Linked DNA regions of Homo sapiens: region 2 is linked to region 1. The links are contacts of gene promoters, found by promoter capture Hi-C in human tissues and cell types (Jung and others, 2019). All regions are on one chromosome and are shown on one strand. Each heading gives the region's core, a stretch centred on a gene start or on the middle of the fragment in contact. The rest is flanking DNA. Distances are from core to core; before and after follow the strand shown. Region 1 holds the start of DDIT4L (DNA damage inducible transcript 4 like). Region 2 has its middle 160 kb from the start of SLC39A8.

Region 1 (7,755 bases), core at 2,516-5,015:
GTTAAGGAGAGATACTTCAATTCCCAGAAAAGCCCAGAGATGAGATAACACTGCCATGGTGAAATGGTTCATCTGAGATTAAGCACATGTAATACTGAAAAGAGGATAGATTACTAAGTGAATCAGAGAGGGACTAGATCTCAGAACTAATTTCCTATCCTCACAGGTATTCATCATTCACTCAATGGAAGAGTAATCAACTACACACAAAAATATCAGTTCAATATTTTGCATTTTTCTAGTTTAAAGACAGTATTCAACACTTAAGAACAGGGGAAACTGAGCTTATAAAGGCATCTAAAACAACACCGTGGTTACTGAAATGGCACCACAAGCTTTTGTTGCCTCTTTAAAACATTAGAGTGAGGAAGTCACCAAGAAACAGTGAAGCAGTTCCATTATTGCCGTAATATTTCTCATTTACTCTTACCTAGGGTTAAGCTTTAATTAAACTCACCTACTTAATCCTACCCTCCTGTCTAAAAACCCTTCAAATTTGAGTCAGGAACTGGTGGTGTGGGCTTTTGGAAGTTTTGATAGGCTAAATATCATTTAGTATGATTCTGTGATTTAAAAAATCCTCTGAAAACTTACAGAAAAAAAAGCCATATGAAAATCAAAATAGGCAAATCTGGTTTATATAGTCTATTACCAAGCCTACCTGAAACCAAATTGTGGAATCAAATGTAAAACTCAAATGGGCTTCTACTTTTGCTTACCTATTCCATCCCATTCAATTCTGTACAAAAATGGGATCTATGCAGAAAATCTACACTATTTTGAATCACTTCTCCAAAGGCCAGAAAATCAGCCTGTTAGCTGCAGTTGCTATGAATGTGAAACACAGAAAGAAAAGAGACTACATTTGGGGTTTCTTATTTAGGGCAGGTGGGGCAAACTACAAATGACTTTAGCTGACTAGCTGAATAGTTTTACTACCCAATCATGAAATAATCTTTATATATTTTCCCTTTTTAGGACCCTTCAATCACTGTTGTTCCAATCAGTGAGTAAAGTTTTTTCTTAACAAGTCGAAATCCTGAGCTGAGGATCAGAGTTCTCCTGAAACCAGAGGAGAAGCGACCTCTACTAAAGAAAAAGTCCCTGAAGCTAGTCCATGAGCAGTTCTCCTGCTTAAACACAAGTGTAAGCTCAAAAGTAGGTACGACGCTAGAATCACACACAATCCTATCCAGCTTTTTACATACATTTTCAATTTCCAAGTTCACGTGCATAACACAACCTCGCAAGCCGCAGGGCTCCGTTGAGGAAAGCCGCAGGACATCTTGAGCAATTCTCTGGGTCAGTTTCTCAGGGACAAGGACCTTTGAGCAACCAAGTTTAGTTTGCTTTGATTTGGACAGACAGTTCTCCAGCATTTTAACCAAATTCTGGCAAGTTGATTCCTCAAATATTACCTCGTTGAGGTTGGGTTCAGGAACAACATAATCCCAGTAGTCAAAATCTGTAAGAAATGGAGTTTTCTTTTTAGATACAGAAGAAAAAATTTAAGAGTAGAAAAAAAACACCAAGATATCAACATTGGTTACCTCTATCTACCATGTCTGCCTTTTTCTTGTATTTGTTTCAGAGTCAGCTGACCTCAATTAACTGTTAACTAGCTAGGTAATATAGCGAATAATTTAAGCTCTCATGAATGAAAGTTCATGTATGAAATAAAGGTTTAGATAAATAGAGTAGATAGGATGTAACCACTTTTCTTTAAATTTATGTGTGTACACAAAACACACACACAACCGTGAAGACTATGCATCAAAAATCTACTTGTGATTATCCCAGATTATTGGTGATTTTCTTTTCTTTTCTCCTACTTGCTTATGGGGGTTTTCTAATTTTGTTTTACAGAAAACATGCATTACTTCTGGAATAAAAAGTTATAACTTTGTTTTTTGGACTAAGGGGTTGTTACTTTCTAACTGTAGGAATACATGTATTGTAAAATAAAGAATTTTTACTATTATGTTTGAAGAGTTGTATTAAAGCTTTAAGAGTTATATTAAAGATCTATCAAATTTGTGTCTTTAAGTCTTTACTGGAGTGGCCTGTAGGTCCCAATTTTAGCTTTAGCCTCTTTAATTAAAAATTGTGCAGAGAAGACCTTTGAGGTTCATGAGGATATTTGTAACCGGCTGGGTGGTTTTTCTTAGCCAAGCAAAACAAAATAGTCCTAGGGAAATAAAATTAGCTGGGCTCAAAGGAAAAGAGATAGCTCTGCATTTGGTCACCTACACCTCAAATTAATCCTACCCCTTGGCAGGATGCCACACCACACGGAGTCAAATGAACAAGGTGCAGGCAGATGCCCTCCCAGCTCCTCTCTCTAAGCCTACTCCACCTTCATCAGCCACTGGCTTTTCCTCTCCACTTCGTGTAAGTTTGGAGTTCTGGCCTGTAAATTAGGTCATCAACCACTTCACCTTGAAAGGAGAAAAACACGAAGAGCTTAAGCAGTTTATCTATGCTCTTACAGCTCTTTAGTGTCAGAGCAGTGTGTTCACCTAGAAACTGCTGTTAAAATTCCAAATGACAGCAAGTCAAGCACCGCTGCTGTTCAACAGTTTCCTTCTCACATTAAAAATGGAATAATGGATATATCCACGACTGAAAATCCTACTCAGTAATAAACAATAAACACGAACACACTGATTTAAGCAACGGACATAAAAGAATCTCAAAAACATTAGGCTGCGGGAAAGAAACCAGACACAAAAGAATACCTACTGTATGGTTCCACTTACCTAAAGGCAAAACTAACTTGGAATGATAAAAATCAGATCAGTAGTTCCCTGGAGTCAGGGGAGAGTGAGGAATACCTGGCAAATAGGTGCGTCGGAATTCAGGGGGAGGGGCGATATTGATTACAGGGTAAATACATTTGCTAAAACACACATAACTGTGTTCTTCACAATCATGTAAGATAAGGAACTTAATCCCAAGGGGCCTACTGGCACCAGACTAGAAAGATGCAGCCCTCGGGTATTCTACTTTTGCTACTTTTGTTTCTATCATGGAGAGAAGATGTTAGAAAATTTGGAAAGGAGTCTCCTCAGATGGATTTTGTGGCACCTCCTACATAGAGGTAGGGGAGGAAGTCGAAAGCCCGCCCACCCAATAGATCCAGAGGCACCGACCTTGGGAGGGGAGAAGGGTGGACAGCGGGGACACTCACCACTTAGCAGGCTCTCTGGGTGATAGCCACAGTCCAGCAATTCTGAAATGCTGGCCGGGTTCTTGCTGCTCAAACTGCCAGTTGCAACCATGGTCAACGGCTCTGTTTCCTTCGCGAGGCGCAACGGCCTTTCCTGAGCGCTGGAAAAAATGAGGCGAGAAGAGACGGATTTGCAAAAGCAGGCGAGTCGTGCAGAGGCTCCTAAAATGCCCGGCGTCCCGGGAGCGAACTAGCGGAGGAACTCCTTTGCCAAAGGGGTGGAACCGGCCTCTGCAACTCAATTTGACAAAGCCCTGGGAGCGGAGCCGCAACCTGAAACTAACTCAACAGTTCGCAAAACTTGGAAGCGACCTGCCCCGCGGAGCGCCCCCCGGCCCCGCTGCCCCCACCAAGGCCGCAGCTTCGCTCACCTGCCAGGAGTTCGCGGGGGCCTGCGCGCTCGCTGCCGGGTAAACACAGGCAGGTGGCTTCTTAGGAGTCCCCTCTCCTGGGGACTCGGTGACCTGCAGACCCCAGCAGCCAGCGGCACCCTGCTCACCCCTCCCGGGCCACCCTGCGCCGGCTCCTCGCAGTAGCATAGCCTCCGGGGCAGCGAGAACTTTATAGGTCCAGTCCCCACCCTGCTCAGGCCCGCCCACCTGCACCGCCCCTCCCCGGCCAGCGCCCCGCCCCTCCCCTCCAGAGTCTGGTCCCCTTTCAACCTCTACACTTCCAGGGAGCCCGAGCCTAGCCACAGGGAGTTGAGGATAAGCCTGTGGTAGAGCGGACACCTGTTGCTTCCAGGGTAGATCTCGGGCCACTGGGACCGCAATTCCGGGTGCACGACTCGTCAAAGCCTGAACCTGATTGTTCAGTGCGACCCCTCCCCGAGCGTCCGCGCTTTCACACTCAGGCTGCTCCCGGCAGCGGGAAGCTTTAAGCGATCTGTGCATTTCCTTGTCCTGGGGCTTTGCTGTGTCATCCTGAACACTTGGCTTAAATCTGTTGCAACGTCCACTGAGCATCATTTATGCACTTATTTCTGGCCTCTAACCCAGTCAACTCTACTCTGCCTCCCAGGGTTTCTGTATCCTCCTCTGCTGCAAGCGGTCAGATCTAGTTTTCCTTTCCCGCATCGAAGGCTCGCCAGCATTTTAAGAAGGGCCTTAATGACCCCACGCACTCCGTGGCTCCCTGGCATTCTTCGTGCACTTACATCTGTGGCTAATGCGTTTTCTTCGCAGGAAGGGTGAGCCTGGCACTCTTCTAATTAGACCTTGCCCCAGAGCGCGGGGAGCTTGAATTGAGCGGGAGTTTGCCAAGAAACACACAATACCATTAGTAGGATCTTAGGTACTCCTCTATCCGTGCATCGAGAGCAACTGTCATTTCCGGAGGCAGAAGTTTCTGGCGAGCCCTGTTGGGAGGATCTTTGGTTTGGGATATTTTGAAGAGGTTTCAGAGACTGAAGATAAAGAGTTTTATATTCTGCTGGGGATCAGCAGATAATCCCTGTGAGGGCTCCGTGCGGTCCTGCACAGGAACACACAGAGAGGCAGAGGAGCCCTGGAAAGAGGCAACATGCCCGCATAGCCCATGAGCAAGAAGCCAAACCTGATTTTTTTCTTCCAAAGTTATTAAGCCACGGTTTTCTCGCTTTGGTGTGCCAGTAGGAGATGATCTGTTCAGAGAGTCAGCTTGGGGTGCGTTAGGGGATGCCTGGAGGGAGAAGGTTGTTCCTACAGTAGAGATCCCAGTGTTGGCTCCCAGGCCCTCTAGGATTATGTGTAGAAGGATTTGCAGGTTAGAACCTTGAAAGGCAGTTTCAGCTGTCCTGGCATAAAACTCTTAGAAAAACAACAACAGAAGGGGTATAGAGGGTGTGATAAACAGATCAGTGGGAGGACATTCGGACGCAGAGCAGCAGAAATTAAAGCCAGCTTGACAGTCCATTTTTAACTCAGTTCAGGCAGCTGCACTGCCTGAAGGTCAGGCGAGCCAAGGAAGGAGATGCTGATAGACTGGTCTTTGAAGGCCAGTTTCCACTTCTACTTCAATAAACAGAAAAGTGGAAAATAAACAAGCCCATTTAAGCCAATTAAAAAGCGGTTTCAGTGGCTAGGGTGTTCAGGACCAATGGATGGGCCCATGGTCAGGAGTTGGATGCCAGCCGCCTGACAGTCAGTCCCTGGGCAGGCCACAGAGCCTCTTGTCCTTGTCTGGGCAGCATTACTAATGAGGCTGCCACTTAACCTGCCTCCAAGGAGGATTTTTAGAATTAATATAATGAGTGGTCTGAACCAATACTAGCGAAATAAAGAAATTACTCGTTTCAATTTCCTTAGGGTATTTAGGCATAATTCATAGAGTAAATGCCCCCATAGGGCCAGAAAGATTATTGGAACTTACAGAAAGTAGTAGTTGCTCTTGGCCCACCTGACTAAATGAAATTTTGCAAAGCCCTTTGGGATTTGACTTCAGAAAACAATTTACTTATGTACAAAAGACTTCAAATAATATCTTCTTGGCTGAATGGGCCTTGCTCTCAGGACATACAGGGCATAAGGAATGATTGAGGTAAAACACATACCTGGAATAATTAAGAATGTCCTTTTTTATCTACTTAAAAGCGTAGAAAATCCATTCTATCACCAGTTTGCATCTTCACAAGGTTAAACAGAACTGATTTTTTAAAAATTTGAAGCATAGAGAAGAATTAGGAAAAACTAAGTGCCATTATAGGCTAAGTGCAAGGTGACACAGTCTATCAGATTTCAGAAAAATGTGGATACAGTCAATTATTTATAACTGAAAGTTCGCATTGGGGAACTTCAGGTGTTTATTAAGTGCAGTGATAAAGAAGTTTGTTTTATTGCTCTTTCATTATATCCTCTAACTAATACTATATAAACAGTTTGTGGGAGTGCTTACTGGAAATAGTTGTGTATGAATAGAAAATCTAGTCAGTTAAATAATTTGATTTCCTTTCATACACCAATGTATTATAAGAAACTATCTAAATCATAGGCAAAGGCTTTAACTTAAGCATGCTTGCTTTTTTATTACTATAATTCACTAATCCATCTTCTTACAGAAAGAAAATGAGATAGCAGTAACAACTGGCAACCATATGTTCATCTGATGTATTTGCAAATATTTAAGTTCTAGGCTTCCTCAGGTATAAATATAGTATTCATAATGTCATTGCTTATGTAAAGTATAAATTCACAATGCCAGGGATACTGAAAAAACAAAAAGCAAAAATGATGCTTTCATGTATTATTACAGGAAATGTTGGTGTCTTTTGCATTTGTGATTTGGAGTGTTGAATGTTCATTACGTGTTTCACTAGCCAATTTTCTGTCTTTATTTGGTATGAACACTTATTTTTGAATCTTATTAATACATTTACGTTCCACACATAGCTTATTTTATTTCATAAACTATGACACCTGAGGGAAAGTTACTGAGTTTCTTAATCTGTGCAATTCAGGGAAAACTTACAGGACATGGAAATTGATCTATACATTAGCAGTAAGCTCATGGGGTTATTGTAAGGATTAAAAGAGAAACCCTTAAAATCAATGCTAAATATTATCTCTTTTTTATAAACAAATATGAGATCTTTAAATGCACACTGCCTCTAGATTCCCTTAGTTGTGCTAAGTTTGTAAATTTGGTGTCTCATGCAAAGTGCTTAGAACCAAACTAATACTGATATTAGGCAAGAACTTAATGAGTGATATTATTATTATTGCTGTTATTATGTTCTGAAATTGTAGTTATCTGGGTCAGTGCAACAAGCAAGTGGCTAAATGGAGTTGGGGAAGTGTTGTTAAAGTATAAGAAAATTTATGATCTTTCCTGTTTGCAGGAAATCTGGAAAGTATTGGCACTGATTAGGAAAGCCTTTTTTATTATAATACATCCATCACTGTATGGGAAAGCAGGAAAGGATCTGCCAATGAAACGTAAGAAAATAATGTGGGTAAAAAATTATCTTGGTGTAAAATACAGAGTTTTATATGTTAACTTTCCTCTATTAATCTAGGAAATAGTTTTCTGGAAATAAATAACATCTACAGACAATTGAAACTATTGACTATAGAATGACGCAGTTGTTTCAAGGTATGTGTGATCATCTGTTAACATACTCGGTGAGATATTTAATCATAATTTTTATTTGCCTTTGAGGGTGCATCACCCAATACAATTTCCATTTAATTATTAAATATTCAATATGACTTATTCTGTTAAGTAAGGTAACATGGAAACTTATCTCGTATAAGACAAAAAGCAGGCCCAATACATAAAATAATACATAATGCTTGCTATTAAAAGCTGAGAGAATCTTCCAATAACACAAGGGTTTGCCTCTCTTTTTAAGCAGAGAAATGGTTACCATAGCAACTTGTCTCTTAATATAGTTATATGATTTTGTTCTCTTCATAAACAATGCTGTGTATTATCAGTCTTTAAATAGAGATAATATGTTTAAATGCATACAATATCTGCTTTTCCTTAATTATGGAAAAATGTATAATTCAGGTGACCATATCAGAGGATGTCAGCCAGGAACATGGAGT
Region 2 (7,755 bases), core at 2,963-5,462, 2.0 Mb after region 1:
TACTAAGCATCACACTCTTGGACCACCATGCCTATATTTCCTCTAGTGCTCTCACTCCAACAGTTCCTTATTTCACCAAGATCTAAAATTCATGAATCAAATACATCTTGTACTGCCCCTCACCTTCCTGTCCTCACTTCCCTACTTGCCCTTCTTAAATTCAGTAGCCCATCATTATAGCCCTCACTCACTTATAGCCTCTCTCTTATACTTCTCTCCCATTCCTCTCTCACTTCATCACATGTAATTGGCAAGATCTCAAACTCCAGAAAAACTGATAATAGCCATAATTTTGCCTATGCCATGTCTGTTCCCAGGCACTTAATGTAAGCTGGAGAAACATAAAACAATGCTGACTCCCTTCACTATAAGTTATCTAATAGAAATGGTAAAACAAGACTTGCAGGTGACAGGTTAGGACACAGTAAGCAAGTAATTTGCCCTTAGTGCAGACCAATTATCCTTCTATGTTTTACTAGTTCGCTAAATTTTGAAGCCTCTTAAAAAACTATCTCCCTCCTCTAATCTCCAATATCTTTTCCCCCATCCTCACTCTTAGATGCAGAATGTATTTCCATTTCAGAAAATAACAAAAGAATTTCCAGTGGTGCCCACACTGCATTTATTCACAAACCAGCATCTGCACCCACATAGTCTGCCTTCCCACCAATTACTTCAGATGGATTGTACCTGCTCCTGTCTAAAGGCAATCCCTCTTGTGCACTAAATCCCATTGTCTCTCACCTACACAAACACATCAGTTAAGTTATTCTCTCATCTGTCTTCCATTATTAATTTTCCACTTTGCAGTGTGACATTCCCATCAGTGTACAAACAAAAACTGCTATAATTTCCACCATCTGCAAAACATGAAAAAACCCTCTCCTTGACCTCATATCCCCTTCCGGTTATCCTCCATGTGGCTGCTCCTTTTTGTTGCAAAGCTCCTTTAAAATTTTCCTATACTTACTACCTCCAACTTATTCTCATTTTTTCTTAAGCTCTCTGTAATATAATAAGGCTTTCACTCTCCATCACCATTTCACTTAAAACTCCTCTTATCAAGGACACCAATGAACGCCTCTTTGACCAAATCACTGGTCAACTCATTGAGGGAAGTTTTCCAAGGGAGCATGGCTGAGCAGTCCGGGAGTTGACTGGTCAGCCATGGAGTTGACCGGTCAGCCATGCTCCCTTGGAAAACGTCCCTCATTTAATTTCTAAATAATACACGGTCTTGATTTTCCTCCAGCTTCACTGGCCATTTCCTATCTTCTTTGCTGCCTCATGCGCACTTCCCAAGTCTAAATAGACTCTCTTAGGATGCAATCTTTATCCATGCTCACTTTCTAGATTTTATTTAGATTTATCCACATGATTGTCTAAAAGACTACTTAAACTTAACACATTCAAGGCAGAACTTCCTTTTAACCTGCCCCTCCCACTCCCTGCCCCATTTCAATAAGGAACACTTCTTCCATCCTGCCAATTCCTCAGACCAAAAACCTTGGAGCCATTTTTGAATGTTCTCTTTTTCTCATATGCCATGTCCAATGAATCAGCAAATCTTATTAGATCTTTCTTCAACATATATCCAGTTATCACCACCCCAACCACTCCCCACCCTGCTCAGAGCCATCACAATCGTTTCCCCAGATTATTATAATGCCATGGACTCCTAGCCAGTTTTCTGTCCCTTAGGCAATTTATTCTCAACTCAGAAACCAGAGTGACCCTTCCAAAACTATGATCAAGCTCTTATCACTCTCTACTCAAGCCCCTCAATGGCTTTATCCCTCTCAGGGAAAAACTCTCATGCCTTACCATGGCCTATGAGGTTCTATGTCATCTGCATCACTGTGACCTCTCTGTCCTCATCTATCACCACTGTCCTCTCTCTCTCTCTCAGCCATATCATACTTGCCTCTTTTCTTTTCTTTTCGTTTTTAGAAGTGAAGTTTCACTACGTTGCCCAGGCTAGCCTCGAACTCCTGGACTCAAGCAATCCTCCTGCCTCAGCCTCCTGAGTAGCTTGGACTACAAGCATACAACATCACACCCAGCTCTGACCCCTTTTCTATCCACCAAGCATAATATTCACTTGCTTCTTCCTTTACCTAGAAACCTCTTTCACCAGAAATTACGATGTCTAACTCTCGCACTTCCTTCAGATATTTAATCAGTGGCTTAATTAATGAGGAATTCCAGGACCACTCTATTTAAAATGACTTCCTCTTCCTTTCTTCCACTTCCTTGGAGATAAGAGTTTTATAGAACTTATCACTATATGAATATGAATATAGATAAAATACATAGAGATCATTATGTCTATTTGTACATATATAGATGTACATACATATACAATGCACATCAATACATATACATAAAATTTTTTATATTTACTACCTATTTCTGCACTCTAGAATGTAAACTACGTGAATACATGATGTTTTGTATATTTTGCTCATTATTCTATTCCCGGCATCTACAACTGTGGCTGGCAAATATCTGGGGTTCAAAAATTATCAGTTGAATAAGTTAATATACACATTCATATTTTTAACAGATGTAAAGTCTTTAGCATTTAAAGACTGACTCTGCTTTATCTAGGCATTCCAACAAAGCCTCCTCCTGCACTTTGATCCCTCACACTTAGATTTAAAAAGAAAACATTTTTATATTATTTTCTACAGTTGGTGGTTTAATGAATGTCCTCTGTGCAGTTGGTTCATTTTAAAGCCACATTATTTCCCTGTCTAATCATTGGCAGTGGCAGGAAGTAGAATTAATCTAATCTTTCAGAAGGATTCCCCTGAAGCCTGAAGCACTATTGCATTAGACAGCAGAGGTTTTTCCTTACTAGGACAGATTTTCATGTCCTAGTGTATATTTAGACACTGAATCCCTTTAAAACTAATGGGAGGTCTGTGGGCCAAACACACTTACAGGAAATGAAAGGAAATGGCACAGTAAAAGCAAGCTGTGAAGAAAGATCTTCACGCTTGCTGTTACCTAATCTGTCACATGAAAGATTTATTTTAAAATTTCTATTAGATAAAATGAACAGAAAAATACCATGTACAGTATTCTTTCAGTATTCCTGCTCTTGTTTCCACAAGTGCCTCCTCTTCATGTGAGTCATGTATTGAGGTAAAGAAAAAAGAGTAGAATAGGATATTTTACTTATCTCAAATCAGAAATGTCATCCTATATTTGAAGAATAATTGCAAAACAACCAAAATGAAAAAAGCAATGCAATTTTGGAAAAGTTGAAGCTATAAATTGTCAGTAAATAACTAAGTTATTTCTATTTTCAATGAAAAATAACATTTGGTCAAATAGGCTGTAGTTTGGTTTATTTTGCTGTTGTTATTGCTATGCTTTGTTTTTTAAGAGACCTAAAGATTAGTTCTAATATTGGGTACTTTCTTAGCTTCAAAATATATTAATATTTAGTTGTGCATCTACTACTTTATATTGCTGCCATATTCACGCTTTTATTATTCTCTATTCTTTAACATATTCTTACCTATATAGGAGTTTACCAAAAGAAGTAAACTTCTTCACTTTTTTCTCCAGCCTTTCTGACTAATACTGTCTGTTGCAAACTTCCTTTGCTTTTCTAAGATAATATTCCAGGCATATCCCAAGCCTTTTTGGTCTCTTTCAGTGACAAGAACAATTTCATTTAAGTAATTGTAATTCACTCTCAGATGCTAAAAAAAAAAAAAAAAATCCAGACTAAATCAGAAGTTCAATCTAACTTCCATTCCAAATCTTCACTCCTCCGCAGAACTGAAACTTGATCTTTGGATGTGATAGCTGCAATAATGAAGTAGTCTTAGTCTGTTTCTCACCTTCCTTTCTCCATCTACATTACCTCTGCTACACGTTCTCCCAGGGTCAAGATAGCAAACAGGGGAGATTAGGAAAATAAGGATATCTTATATGACAGATATTTTATAATTTGCCATAGCACATGCCCAAAGGCAGATGCCCAAATGTTAGTTCTCTCATAGGGCACATTGTATACTCTTTGGTGGTTCCCCTTTGCCCTCTACTTGTCCTGCCATTGCAGGTTGTTCCAGCCAGCTTCATGGCTTGAGAATTCTCCATACTAGGGGCTGGGCAGGGTGGTTCACACCTGTAGCTCACACTAGCACTTTCAGAGGCAGAGGTGGATGGATCACTTGAGTCCAGGAGTTCAAGACCAGCCAGGCCAACATGGTGAATGAAGCCTCATCTCTACTAAAAATACAAAAATTAGCCTGGCATGGTGGCATGTACCTGTAATCCCAGCTACTCCAGGGGTTAAGAAACAAAAAAAACACTTGAACCCAGGAGACAGAGGTCGCAGTGAGCCGAGATTGCGCCACTGCACTCCAGCCTCGGTGGCAGAGCAAGACTCTATCTCAAAAAAAAAAAAAAAAAAAAAAAAAAAAAAAAAAAAAAAAAAATTCTCCATACTAGAAACAGGCAGGAAGCAGGCATCAGTTTCTTTGTTTATGTATGTCTCTGCTCTACTGGGTTTATCAAGGCCTCTGAAGAATTTTCCCACCAAACCCCATCTGGTGAGATTAGGCAAGAGTTAAACATTTCTGTAGCTACATAATCATCCAGTCAGAAAACAAGATTCCAGTCTCTTCTACTTTCCTGGCATCTCCAGATTTTAAAACTTAAATTCTTGGAGACTCATCAAATGACTTGAGATGAGTGCTGGCATCTCAGTCTCTATTCCCTTGGTTGGGGAGAATTTCCATGGTACTCCTAATTACAACAGAGACACACCTATTATAACTATTCTCTCTCCAATCACACTTTAAAGTGCCTGTTCTTATATAAAATAAAAGTTGGTAGCTGGATTAATAGTTTCTAGAGAGATTCTGCTATCTCTCAGTAATTTGGTCATGAATATGTTTACCATCTTTCTTTATAATATATGTGTACTTACCACCTACCATTCTCAGGTTTATGACTCAGTTCACATTCTAAGACATTAGAAAAAAGTTACAGTCTACATCCTATGTCACCTATCTTACCATTGCAGAATCTTTGTCATTCTGCACTATAGTCAAAAGCATTGTGTAGTAGACTGAAAAAGAGTCATCAAAGACATCCATAGCCTAATCTTCAGAAACCATGAATATGTTACCTTAAATGACAAAAGGGACTTTGCAAATGTGGATTGAGGACCCTGAGATGGGAAGCTTATCTTGCATTATCTGGTGAGTCTTAAATGTAATCACAAATGTCATTATAAGAGAGAGGCAGGGGTGAATATTAGATTTTAGAAGTAGGAGATGTGAAAACAGAAGCAAGAGATTAGAGGAGTTCAAGGAAGGGGCCCTGAGCCAAGAAATGCAGGAGCCCATCAGAACCTAGAAAATGCAAGAAAAGGCATCTCCCCTAGAGCCTCCAGAAGGAGCTAGCCTGGCCAACATCTTGACTTTAGCCCAGTGAAACTGATTTCAGACTTCTGGACTCCAGAACCATGAAAGAATAAATTTTTGTTCTTTTAACACACCAAGTTGTGATAAGTTGTTCTAGCAACCACAGCAAATGAATAAACATTATCTCATTTAGGATGCATTTAGCTGAAAATAATAAAAGTCCTGGACTCAAATCAACTGAAGCAATAAGAAAACGTCTCTTTTCACGTATCAAGAAGTGTGGAGTTAAGGCTGGTTTAGGTGTGGTACAATGAAGAGTCTAGTTTCTTTCCAATTCTCTGTGTTATGCCCACTCTGTGTGCAATTTTATTCCTGAGCTTGCTTGTGTAAGGCTCATCAGATGACTACCAGCAACAGTAGGACAATATATTATGTCATTCATTGAAAAAAAGAAAAACTATCATTTTAGTCATGGTCCTGCTTTTTAATCTCATTTGGCCAGATTAGGACCTTTACTCACTCCTGGACCAATCACAATCCAAGAATCCTATGCTCTAATTGACTTGAGCAAGTGTTGCTGAACCAATTTCAAACAAGGGTGAAATTAGCATAATTGTCATTGCCTAATCAGGACCCACTCCTGAAGCTGAGGAATACCTGGGCAAAATTGGCAATAGGGAGATGGCAAAGGATAAGGAGACCATATATCTAATTTATCATTCAACTGGAACACGACTAAGAATGAAAGAAGTCATTATATGAAAAAGATACTTGCTCACGCATGTTTATAGCAGCACAATTCACAATCGCAAAAAATGTAGAACCAACCAAAATGCCCATCGATCAAAAAGTGGATAAAGAAACTGTGGTATCAATACATACAATGGAATACTGCTCAGCCATAAAAAGGAATGAATTAATAGCATTTGCAGCAACTTAGATGGGATTAGAGACGATTATTCTAAGTTAAGTAACTCAGGAATGGAAAACCAAACATCGCATGTTCTCACTCATAAGTGGGAGCTAAGATATGAGGATGCAAAGGCATAAGAATGACACAGTGGACTTTGGGGACTCAGGGGGAAGAGTGGGAGGGGGTAAGGGATAAAAGACTACAAATTAGGTTCAGTGTATACTGTTGGGATGATGGGTGCACCACAGTCTCACAAATCACCACTAAAGAACTTACTCATGTAACCAAATACCACCTGTTCCCCAAAATCCTATGAAAATAAAAAAATTTTAAAAATAAAAATTAAAAAAAAGGTGCCCTATTAAGAATTCCACCAATATAATAGATATAAACAGGTACTGTCCCACTCACCTTGGGACTTATGCTCATCCTATTGGTAGGAGGCCAATAGTGTCACCCACAAGCATTTTGATTAGAGCTGACTAGAACACTAGTCACCAGTTCCTAAGAAGAAAGGATTGGCTGGGTGTCGTGGCTCACACCTGTAATATCAACACTCTGGGAGGTGGAGGTGGGCAGATCATGAGGTCAGGAGATCGAGACCATCCTGGCTAACACAGTGAAACCCTGTCTGTACTAAAAATACAAAAAATTAGCTGGGCATGGTGGCATGTGCCTGTAGTCCCAGCTATTTGGTAGGCTGAGGCAGGAGAATTGCTTGAACCCAGGAGGCGAGCTTGCAGTGAGCAGAGATCATGCCACTTCCTGCCACTGCACTCCAGCCTGGGCGACAGAGTGGGATTCCATCTCAAAAAAAAAAAAAAAAAAAAAAAGACTGCAAAAATGAGGAAACACTTAATCTGCAAGGGTAGAGGACTTGACAAAAGTCATCTAATTGGAAAGTGGAAAAACAAATACCTAAATAACCAAGCCTTTTTAACCTAATTTTACTTTTCTTTCCATATACCACTCATGTAATGTTAAGTCCAATACAGAGGTCAACCTCTAATTAGTTTGCTGGGGCTACAATAACCAAGTACCATAGATTGGGTGGCTTAAACAACGGAACTTTCTCTCACATTTCCAGAGGCTGGAAGTCTAAAATCAAGGTGTTCTCAGTGTTGGTTCTTTTTGAGGCCTGTGAGGGAGAATCTGCTCCAGGCCTCCCTCCTTGGCTTTAGACGGCCATCTTTTCTCCATATCTCTTCACATCGTCTTCCCTGCATGTGTCTCTGTCTACAAATTTCCCCTTTTTATGAAGACACCAGTCATATTGGATTAGGGCCTACCCTGATGACCTCACTTTAACTTGATTACCTCTGTAAAAACCCTTAATTCCAAATAAGTCCACATTATGAAATAGTGGGGCTTAGGATGTCAACATCTGATTTGGAAGAGGGGCTGGGGCACAATTAAATCCATTACACACCACCAAGGGAAATTCCTAATGAG

The links. Contacts are between HindIII fragments. The study calls those that stand out against the background at their distance.
Region 2: a contact is called between a fragment that was not itself captured here and the fragment with the promoter of DDIT4L in region 1, in 1 of the 25 tissues and cell types used here (lymphoblastoid cells).

Annotation. Positions count from the first base shown.
Region 1 is chr4:100,186,703-100,194,457 of GRCh38, forward strand. It overlaps DDIT4L (DNA damage inducible transcript 4 like), which reads right to left and starts at 3,766. Exons shown (of 3, transcript NM_145244.4): 1 at 3,601-3,766; 2 at 3,191-3,330; 3 at 1-1,465. The coding sequence starts at 3,281. The coding sequence ends at 975. It overlaps DDIT4L-AS1 (DDIT4L antisense RNA 1), which reads left to right and starts at 3,331. Exons shown (of 5, transcript NR_125924.1): 1 at 3,331-3,372; 2 at 6,264-6,347; 3 at 7,044-7,140; 4 at 7,221-7,297. The HindIII fragment of the contact is 5,141 bases long and covers 1,223-6,363 here.
Region 2 is chr4:102,177,368-102,185,122 of GRCh38, forward strand. No RefSeq gene overlaps it. Among named protein-coding and RNA genes, the nearest start is that of SLC39A8, 160 kb to the right of the region's middle. The HindIII fragment of the contact is 5,021 bases long and covers 1,703-6,723 here.